Linked DNA regions of Homo sapiens: all the other regions are linked to region 1. The links are contacts of gene promoters, found by promoter capture Hi-C in blood cells and fetal thymus (Javierre and others, 2016). All regions are on one chromosome and are shown on one strand. The core of a region is centred on a gene start or on the middle of the fragment in contact, and the rest is flanking DNA. Distances in the headings are between cores, read along the strand shown. Region 1 holds the start of SLC25A28-DT (SLC25A28 divergent transcript). Region 2 holds the start of MMS19 (MMS19 cytosolic iron-sulfur assembly component). Region 3 holds the start of ARHGAP19 (Rho GTPase activating protein 19).

Region 1 (3,178 bases), core at 337-2,836:
GGTTTTTGTGAGACCTATTCATTTCTCAAGCTAAATATGCTAGAGAAAAGGAGAGACTGAACATGCTGTGGGGGAGAAGTTCCTTTTAAAAAAATTTTTTTGAGACAAAGTCTTGCTTTGTCACCCAGGCTGGAGTGTAGTGGCATGAACACGGCTCACTGCAGCTTCGACCTCCCTGGCGCAAGCAATCCTCCCCCAAGTAGCTGAGACTACAGGTGCACACCACCATACCCAGCTAATTTTTGAATTTTTGTACTTTTTTGTATTTATTATTTTGTAGAGACGGGGTTTTGCCATGTTGTCCAGGCTGGTCTCGAACTCCTGAGCTCAATAAATCGTCCCACCTCGGCCTTCACAGTGTTGGGGTCACAGGCATGAGCCACTGCGCCGGCCAGGGAGAGGTTAACCAGGTTAATGGACCCCTAGGGTGTCCACATGGCACCTTCAGGGACTCTGAAACGCAGAAATGATATGCAAAATTTTGAGTGCACACAGGGGATGGGAGGTGGAAGTAGGAGAAGAGAATTCGTAGTTTTATTATTTTCCAAACGGTCGCGACCTAAAGGTTAATAACAACTGCTGAAGAGAGTAGAAAAAGTTTTTAAAAAGGAAGCCCAGAGAAGAGCTAAACTTTAGAAAGAAAAAAGGAAAACATCTTTCCTATCCAAGGAAAACCTATGAACAGATGGAGAAGTCCACAGTTGCATCATCTGGGTAAAACAGAGAAGACAGAGCTGGAAACCGCGGGCAGCTTGTGCCAACACGCTCGGGGAAGGCAAATGGAAGAAGACGCCCGTGCTCCCTAGAGCAGGAGGTCCTAAGGCCGGGAATCGCTGGCCTTGCCTCTCAGGACCCGGGCTGACCCGAGGGAGGGAGAAGCCCTCATCGCCAGGCGGGGGACCCATCAGCGCGCCGGCTCAGGGACAAAATACTGATGCTTCAGACTCGGCCAGGCCGTGCGTCCGAGCTTCCCCACAGCCGCCGCACTTCCCTGCTGCCTTTGGGATGCGGCCTCCAGCCCCGCCTCGCCACCGGCCGTCATCTGTGAATCATCCCGCCCATTTCGACATCTTCCTCCCCCGCCTTCGGCTCTTGGCCTGGCGCAGAGCCCAGTGACAGCCGGGGCCCGGGGAACCTCATTCATTCAACACTTGTTGGGTTTACTCTGCGAATGTGGATGCGAGGCTCAGTGCCGGGCGCTGGGGCCTGAGGAGCACCGAGTCCGGCCAGAGGGCCCAATACTCCAGACCCGACCAGAGTCTAGCGGGCCGCCGCGGTCCCCCCTGGAGGTGAGGCGGTTCCCAGCCCGCATGTCGCAACGGCTTCCCGGACAGGCTGCGGGTCGCGCCAGCCAGGGATGACCGGCCCAGGCCGGCCCCGCCTCACGCCCGCGACGAGATCCCGCGGGAACACGGCTCTCCGGGGCCAGGGCCGCCCGCTCTCCAGCCACGCGTCTCAGAATTTGAGGAGCGCACGGGAGCGCGGGTCGTAACGGCGCCCGTCAGCAGTTTGACGTTGAAGGCCTGTCGCCGCCCCGCCCCCGACGCGATCCCGCGCACAGGGACCGCAGCTCTGCAGGCGCTAGTGAGGGGCCCGAAGTCGGCCCCTAGAGTCCCTGGGCGCGTCGCTCTTTCTGTAGCCAATCGGGGACCGACGTGGTGCGGGCCAATGGCCGCGGTCAAAGTATCAAGAGTGGTTGAGCCTATCAAAGTTCAGCCTTAAGTTTCTCCCGCCCTTCTAAAAGTCAGAGGCGGGTTGATCGCACATGTCGGCCAATCAGTGACCAATAAACAAGAAGCTTCTAAGATCAAAGGGGAAAAGGTGGGATGTAGGCGCTAGCAACGCCTCAGGGCGGAGGAATGACAGGCGACTTCGCTAATACTACCGGCTGATTTTTCGTACGTAAGGAAAGGGGTGGGTCTAACTTGGCGTCTCCACCAATGGTTGCTTGGGGGGCGTGTCCGCGGGGCCAAGCGGGAGCCGGAGGCCCCGGGCTCTCTGGGCCGCGCCTGAGGCGGACACTACGGGGCCGGGGGGCGGCGGCGGCAGTGGTGGCAGCGGCGGCGGGGGTGGGCGCCGCAGCTGGCCCGGGTGGATGGAGTTGGAGGGGCGGGGTGCTGGCGGTGTGGCGGGGGGGCCGGCGGCAGGGCCCGGGCGGAGCCCCGGGGAGTCGGCGCTGCTGGACGGGTGGCTGCAGCGGGGCGTGGGCCGGGGGGCCGGCGGCGGGGAGGCCGGGGCCTGCAGGCCCCCGGTACGACAAGATCCGGACTCCGGCCCGGACTACGAGGCGCTGCCGGCTGGAGCCACTGTCACCACGCACATGGTGGCAGGCGCCGTGGCAGGGATCCTGGAGCACTGCGTGATGTACCCCATCGACTGCGTCAAGGTGAGACCTGCACCCGGCTTCGAACCCGACCTGGGGCTGACCCGACCCCTGGGTCTTGTCCGGAGCCAGGATCCCGGCTGAGAGCCGGAGCCGACATGGGTTCCTTCCTGGCTCCTGCCACTACCACATGATTCGAACCGACACTCCATTCAAGCAAGGTCCCAGCTGGGAGTTGATCCCAGTCAGGAACCAGGACCTATTTCTAACCGTCAGTGAAATCTGAATCGGGACTCAGGATCGAAAATCTGTCAGCCAAAGCCCTGGACCCCACCTGGGACTAAACAGGAATAGGGTGGGATGGGGTATCCCGAAGCTCAGGTAAGTGCTACTAACTCGATTAAGGTGAAGCCAACTGGCGTGAACCAGACCCTGAAATGGATCTAACGGCTTGAGATGTTTTCTGGGCTAGTGCTTTTACAAACTCCTTGCTGTATCTTCCCTTACTGACGGGGCAGGAACCCGAATCTGGGATCTCTCAGCTAGATAAAGGACTTACATGTTAAATCTTAACACATGAGTGATTGGAAATCATTGTGCAGTGAGAATGCAGAATTCCAGACTGGAAGTAATGTGGGAAAGATCGTATTCAGGAATAGGTTTCAGTTTCTCTGTGAAGCAAGCATGATACCCCACCTATTTCCTGAACATGAAAATTGAGCTGGGATTAGGACTGTATGTTCAGGGAGCACATCAGCCTCCAAACAAGAGAGATGAAACTGATAGCATATTTCTTTGGCCACCTGAAGTTGGCAAAAAGGGAGAAGTTGCCTAGAAAGGAAGTGTGACGGTATT
Region 2 (3,377 bases), core at 261-2,760, 2.1 Mb after region 1:
GGGCCTGGAGGATCACCAGCGAGCGATCTCACTCCCAAAGCTGGGAAGGATCCCAACAATCCCAAGGGTGACTCTCACCCCGCACCCCATCTTTTATAGACTCCCAGACGGCCGAGAGGCTCTAAAAACCCCTGCGGGAAAAATAAAGATTTCTTTCCCAGAGTCCTGCGCTGCTTTGCAAGTCGGATTCCCGCAGACACGATCTGCAGCTCGATAATGACACAGTCTTTGGAAGGAGCGACTGTTCTCGCCTCGCTCGCTCCGAGTTCTGGGGACGCCTGGCTGCCCGCGCCGTGCCCCGACGGGCCGGCGTCCGACCCCGGCCGGAGCTGCCAGGCCAGCGGCGCCCTCGCCCCCGGCCTCCTCCCGATCCGTCGGCCCCGCTGCGGTCTGCAAACATTTCCTGCCCCCACCCCCACCAGGAGCTACCCAGTTGGAGAGAGTTGGTCGCGCAGCCGGCTCAGTGCTCGCAGTTGCCCCAACTCAGCTCCCCCGGCCGCCCGGCGCTGGGGAGCGGCCCCCTCTGGCTGCGGAGCAGCCCATCGGGGAAACCCAAGCGCCAGCACCAGTGGGGAGTCCATCGGTAAGCCCAGGACTCGGGCGAGGAGGGGGACAACTGGCGGGATGCCCGAGGCCCTGCTCCCTTCCCCATCGTTACCTGCTCGCTTGCGGGGGTGTCCCGGGGCTGCCGGCCTCTCCCGGCGCTGTCTCCCCACGCAGTTGCCCATGCTGGCTCCTCAGCCAGTCCCCATGCACCGGAGGCGGCGGGGTGGTCGGCTGCTCAGCGGACGGCGGCGTCCCGGGTCAATGGCTCCGGCCGCCCGGCATCGGGCGCTCCCCGATCTCCCCCCGGGGGCGCGCTCAGCCCCAGCGATGGCTCCGCCAAAACTTTGCGGGCCAGGGGAGAGAGGGAAGTGGCAGACTCCCCAGCACGGTCCCAGGTGGCCGGGCCAGGGGGGCCCGCGACGGTGCCCGGCCGGAGACCAGCTCCGCTGGAGGGGCGGAGAGAGGGGGCGGGCACCGCCGCAGCTACTCCCGGCTCGCTCGGGGCACCAGGCAGGGGCCGGCCCCCTGGAGCCTGTCACTCACCTGCCTAACCCCGCCCCAGGCCGGCCCCTCTCCCTTCCGCCGGCTCGCGGTGCCCGCGCCGCCGCCACCACCCGCCCCAGGTGCGCATGTGACCGACAGCACCGCCCCCTAGGGCTGGGCCTGATTTTCTCATTGGCTTCCCCCGTGGTGCGTACCGCCCCTCTCCCCACCCAGCCAGGTGCCCGCCCCGCAGCCCGTCTCCCGGGGAGCCGGGCTGGGAATTATTCGCCCTCAATCGCCTCCGGCTGCGTGCCCAGCAGCCGCCTTCCCTCTCGGTGCCACCGCCCCATTTCAGGCCCCGCCCCTCCCTGGAACTGCCTAGGCAGAAGCCGGCAGGCACGTGACCCCGGCGCCCCGCCCCCTTGCGCTTCCCCGGAGATTGGCTCGGGAGGCGCATGCGCGGAGAGCCCGTCTCGAGCCACCGCCCATATCCCCTCCCACGGTCTCTAGTTCGCGTTATGGCCGCTGCCGCGGCTGTGGAGGCGGCGGCGCCTATGGGTGCCCTATGGGGCCTCGTGCACGACTTCGTCGTGGGTCAGCAAGAGGGCCCCGCTGACCAGGTGGCTGCAGGTACGGCAGACGGCGCCGCGCGCCTTCCGCATGGGGGCCAACAGGAGGGAGCGGCCTCAGTACAGGCGCCGGGCGGGAAGGGAGGAGCGGGGTGACTTTGAGAGATTGGTCTCAAGGCTGGTTAGTGAGCACCGCGAGGTTCAGAGCCGTAACAAGTTAGAGAGTTGCCTGTGTCTTCCTTAAAACCATTTACACTTCTCATCTCCCTGTAGCCAATTATAGGGAATCATTACATTTTACAGATGAGGAAACTGAGGCTCAGCGAGGGCAAGAGGACTTGCGCAGGGCTGCAGACCAGGCAGGAGGGGGAGGTGGGACTCGGACCCAGGCGTTCAGGTCCGAACCGGGTGCTCACGCCACGAAGCCATGCTGTTTGTGGGAGGTTGACGTGTGGAGGTGCATCCTCGCAGCGTCCGCTCCCGTCGCGTGGCATCCTGGGAGTGGCAGATGGCCCCGCGCTCTGACTGGCTGGAATTAAGAGGAGTTGAGGAGACGGGCCAGGAGGAGCTGGAGATGTTCTGGGTGTCCTCCTTAAGACTTTCTCTCCGTTTCTTGCTAAAGTTCTTGATTAGTTTGCTCCATGACGTTTTATGTGGCGTTTGTTTTTGTCTTCTTCCCAGACCCCCACTTTCCTGCTTTTGACCAGTTCAGAGATCTCTTAGTTCAGACAGCTTATCTAAAATTAGAATAAAACGATTTCCAGGCTTCCGTGGAGTTCTGAGACTTTGCTCTTCTAGGAAAAAAAAAAAACTACTAAAAAGTTATTGAATGTTAGGAGGCCTTCAGATCTTGGGTTTAAGTAACAATATAAAATTATCTAATGAGTAGTTTTTTTAAAAAAACTTTGGAAATTTCGTATGCTTGGAGAGAAGTAAGGACACATTTCTCTTGGATATTGAGCGTATTAACCTTTAGAATATGTAAGAAAAGAATAGTGAATCTGCTAGAAATATAATACTTTGTTCGTTAGCAGTATTCCACTTTAATTCAATCATGCCACTATTGTTGAATACATATTATTCCCCAAACATGATGCAAAGCAATAGGAATATAAATACAAATTAGGTTAGATCTGTGCCCACCAGGAACTTATAGTATGCTGGGAGAGGCAACCATTCTGTAAGAGGTGTGTGCAGCGTAGTTTGGAAGCATCAAGGAGCAAATACCTGGTGCTGCCACCAAACTTAACATCTTACAATTTTATGAAATGTAGTGTGTTATCAGTGTTTACAATTTACAAGTACAGTGTCTTACCAATGTCATTTTCCCTCATATTTTATTATGAAAATTTTCGAATATCCAGCCAAGTATAAAGAATTTTATAAGGAGCACATCACTTAGGATCTATCCTACCATTAACATTTTAATATTACTTGCTTTATCATATAGCTATCCATCCATTTAAATTGCAGATACCTGTACACTTTCCTTTAAATACTTTGGCATGCATGTCATTGACTAGAGTTTGTTGACGGTTTATTTTGATGTAAAATGGAATATATAAACCTTTAAGTGTACGTTCACTGATTTTGACTAATGCATACACCTATACAATCCAACCCCCTACGAAGATATAGAACATTACTATATCAGTGTCATTTGTGATGAGTCTTTCACATTTATGCGATACGAAAACAATAATTTTGGATTTTTTTTTGATTCAGAACATATTTTGAAAAGACATCTTGAATGTCTTATCTTGAATAAGGACTTATCTT
Region 3 (3,050 bases), core at 207-2,706, 2.3 Mb after region 1:
TTTGAGCCAGTGACATTTAAGCTTCGACCTGAAAGCCAAAAAAGTGGAAAAATGGACGAGCCAGAAAAAGCAACATGTGCAAAAGCCCTAAGACAGTTCAGAAAGTGAAGCATGTGCAGTACAGTTTAGTAAAAAGGAGGCAGAGTGCAGGGAGAGCCCCAGGTGGCAGGATATCAGAAGGATCAATACAGAAATTCCCGAGAAAAGTCCAGCATAGGAAAACAATATGGAAAAACAAAAAACAACAATGCTCAAAATTTACAATGTTCTCACATATGTTGCCTCAGTTAATCCCTAGGAGAAGTGTGTGCCGCAGGGAGGACAAGGATAATTATGGTTATTCCTACCATTGAGGATTAAAGTTTAGTTTGGGACAAAGTCATGCAGCTTTTGGTTCCATGGTTCATATCACAAGGCAAACTCTGTGGGTTCTCTGGGAAGTTGGAAGGGAGTGAATGTATTGAAGCAGAAATGACCGACTCCAGCCTGGCCAACAGGGTGAAACCCCATCTCTACAAAAAGTACAAAAATTTGCCCTGTGTGTTGGTATGCTGCAATATTGTACTGTGCTCCAGCATGGGAGACAGAGGGAGACCTTATCTCAAAAAAAAAAAAAAAAGAAAGAAATAAAGGAAGAAAGAAATGACCTATGGCTAGGGCTATGCTGAGTATCTGAAGAAAGAAGGCTTTGAACTATACGTTTAAAAGCAAGTACTTCTAGGTTGCCACTCCCTGCCTGCACTTGAGGGATTTATCTCTGGGTCAAGACAGAGAACGAGTCTTGCATTAAATTACATTAAATTAAATGAATTAATTTATGGCTGGGTGCAGTGCCTCATGCCTGTAATCCCAGCACTTTGGGAGGCTGACATAGGAGGATTGCTTGAGCTCAGGGGTTCGAGACCAGCCTGGGCAACATGGTGAAACCCTGTCTCAACAGAAAAAAAAAATTAAAAAAATTGTAAAAAAAAATTATTTATTTTCAACTTTTATTTTAAATTTAGGGGGTACATGAGTTGGTTTGTTATCTGGGTATATTGTGTGATGCTGAGATATAGGGTACGGAGTCTTGCATTTTAGAAAGTGATGAGTCACTTTCAAAGTTGACAGTTCTATAATTCCCTGATTTACATATCAGGACAAAATTTGAGCATAGGCTGGTGATTTCTGACTTGAACCTAAAGGTCTGTGGAATCGGAAGGGTTCATCAAAATGAGAAACTACAACTCCCGGCAGGCCTCGGGGCTGGGTCTTCTTCCCCGCCCCTCCCTCTTTTTCCGCCAGGGCTGGGAACGACCAATGACGGTTAGTCATTTGAATAGACCAATAATATATTAAACGGTTCAGGTTGAGGAGGGGCGGTCGAGTCATCCAATCGCACGGAAGAGGTGAAAACATATTAGCCAATCCAAATATGTGGGGGCGGGACGTAAGGTGGGGCGGTGAAAGAAGTTTGCTGACGAAGATGGCGACTGAGGCACAGAGTGAAGGGGAGGTGCCAGCCCGCGAATCCGGCCGGAGGTGAGCTGAGTTTGGTCCAGTTTCCTGGGAAACGCGGCCTTGGGCTGGTAGTCCTGCCGCCTTTGCCTTGGGTCACGGAGGCGCACGGTTCGGGCTTTGTTTCTTTCTCCCACGGCGTTTCTCATCGTCGCGCCTGCGGGGGCTGAGGCGCGGGGGTCGGGCCTGGGCGCTGGACTCCAGCCAAACCCCCCGCTCGGTCCTGCCGGTGCCCGAGGGGGCTCCTCCCGCTGCGCTGGCTGCAGACGTCCAGCTGGGGGTGGCAGCGCTGATCGCTTTGGCGCCGAGACACCTCTTGATGGCGAGGAAACGGAAGTCCAGGGCTGGTTAGCGAATTCCTCACTGTTGCACACAGCGCTTCACATCTTCTCCGAGGCACTTTGTGCGTTCAGGTCCGAGCAAGGATTTGAGTGTCAATTAGAAACAGTGTTGAGTCCTTGGGCCAGTTTTTAAACCTCTCTCGACTTCAGTTTCTTCATCTGCAAAGGGACGTGAGGATGCCTATTTCCAAGTGTCAAGATTGAATAAGACAATCCATTTAAAGCTAGCACTGAGTTTAGCCGATAATGACAACTCTACGCAATAGATTTTCTTCTTCCTAGTAGAACAGCTAAGGAGCAGATGGGAGAGGGATCTGTAGTCCAGGACATCATGACTTTATTTCCACAGGATGTTCTTTCCTAAACAGCCACACCGAGATTTAGCGTTTTCAGGAGAGAATTTCGAGGTGGTGTTGCCTTAGCCTTGAGACCTAAGTTGTCTTAATTGATTACAATTTTGTTTTTGGTGTAATTCAATAGATTGAGTTTATTTACGTTGCCTCAGTGTAACTCAGTAAAATACTTCGGTTTGGCGTCTTTTGGTTCCATTTGTACCGAATAAGAGATTCCAAGAATCTTGGGAAACTAATAACTTTGTGACTCGGCTTCTTCCTGAGCCCAGATGAGCGTGGTTGAGTGTGTTATTTAAAATATCATACGGGGCCGGGCATGGTGGCTTACGCCTGTAATCCCAGCACTTTGGGAAGCCGAGGGGAGCGGATCACCTGAGATCAGGAGTTCGAGACCAGCCTGGCGAACATGATGAAAGCCCGTCTCTACTAAAAATACAATAATTAGCCGGGTGTGGTGGCGGGCGCCTGTAGTCCCAGCTACTCAGGAGGTTGAGGCGGAGGTTGCAGTGAGCCCAGATGCGCCATTGCATTCCACCCTGGGTGACAGAGCAAGACTATGTCTCAAATAAATAAATAAAATAAAATATGATATGGAAGAGTTTTCCACTCTTTTTTGTTTTGTTTTGTTTTTGTTTTGCAGTTGCAAGATTTCATAGAGTGAAATAGAGTGAAAACACAGCTCCCACACAAAGGGAGGGGACCCAAAGTGGGTGGCCGTTGCTGGCTCTAATGCCTGGGTTTATATCCTGATCCTTGTCCCTCCCGCTGTGCTCTCAGGCAAGAGATGATTGGCTATTTCTTTACCTCCTGTTTTTGCCTAATTAGCATTTTAGTGAGCTCTCTGATTGGTTGGGTGTGA

What was found. The method cuts DNA at HindIII sites, captures the fragments that hold promoters and counts their contacts. A CHiCAGO score of 5 or more calls a contact.
Region 2: a contact is called between the fragment with the promoter of MMS19 here and the fragment with the promoter of SLC25A28-DT in region 1, in 2 of 17 cell types (fetal thymus and total CD4 T cells). The highest score is 8.0, in fetal thymus.
Region 3: a contact is called between the fragment with the promoter of ARHGAP19 here and the fragment with the promoter of SLC25A28-DT in region 1, in 2 of 17 cell types (non-activated CD4 T cells and total CD4 T cells). The highest score is 6.4, in non-activated CD4 T cells.

What each region holds. Positions count from the first base shown.
Region 1 is chr10:99,619,253-99,622,430 of GRCh38, reverse strand. It overlaps SLC25A28-DT (SLC25A28 divergent transcript), which reads right to left and starts at 1,586. Exons shown (of 1, transcript NR_186534.1): 1 at 513-1,586. SLC25A28 (solute carrier family 25 member 28) reads left to right here and starts at 1,992. Exons shown (of 4, transcript NM_031212.4): 1 at 1,992-2,386. The coding sequence starts at 2,096. RefSeq lists enhancers at 436-1,017, 1,018-1,600, 2,184-2,766 and silencers at 1,252-1,411, 2,142-2,301. The HindIII fragment of the contact is 4,603 bases long and covers 1-1,800 here.
Region 2 is chr10:97,496,555-97,499,931 of GRCh38, reverse strand. MMS19 (MMS19 cytosolic iron-sulfur assembly component) reads left to right here and starts at 1,510. Exons shown (of 31, transcript NM_022362.5): 1 at 1,510-1,659. The coding sequence starts at 1,548. UBTD1 (ubiquitin domain containing 1) reads right to left here and starts at 1,008. Exons shown (of 3, transcript NM_024954.5): 1 at 659-1,008. The coding sequence starts at 728. RefSeq lists silencers at 389-588, 599-1,358 and enhancers at 1,599-1,768, 2,129-2,178, 1,855-2,385. The HindIII fragment of the contact is 10,400 bases long and covers 1-3,377 here.
Region 3 is chr10:97,291,043-97,294,092 of GRCh38, reverse strand. It overlaps ARHGAP19 (Rho GTPase activating protein 19), which reads left to right and starts at 1,456. Exons shown (of 12, transcript NM_032900.6): 1 at 1,456-1,521. The coding sequence starts at 1,466. ARHGAP19-SLIT1 (ARHGAP19-SLIT1 readthrough (NMD candidate)) reads left to right here and starts at 1,420. Exons shown (of 15, transcript NR_037909.1): 1 at 1,420-1,521. RefSeq lists a silencer at 1,735-1,784 and enhancers at 1,129-1,885, 1,886-2,644. The HindIII fragment of the contact is 8,887 bases long and covers 24-3,050 here.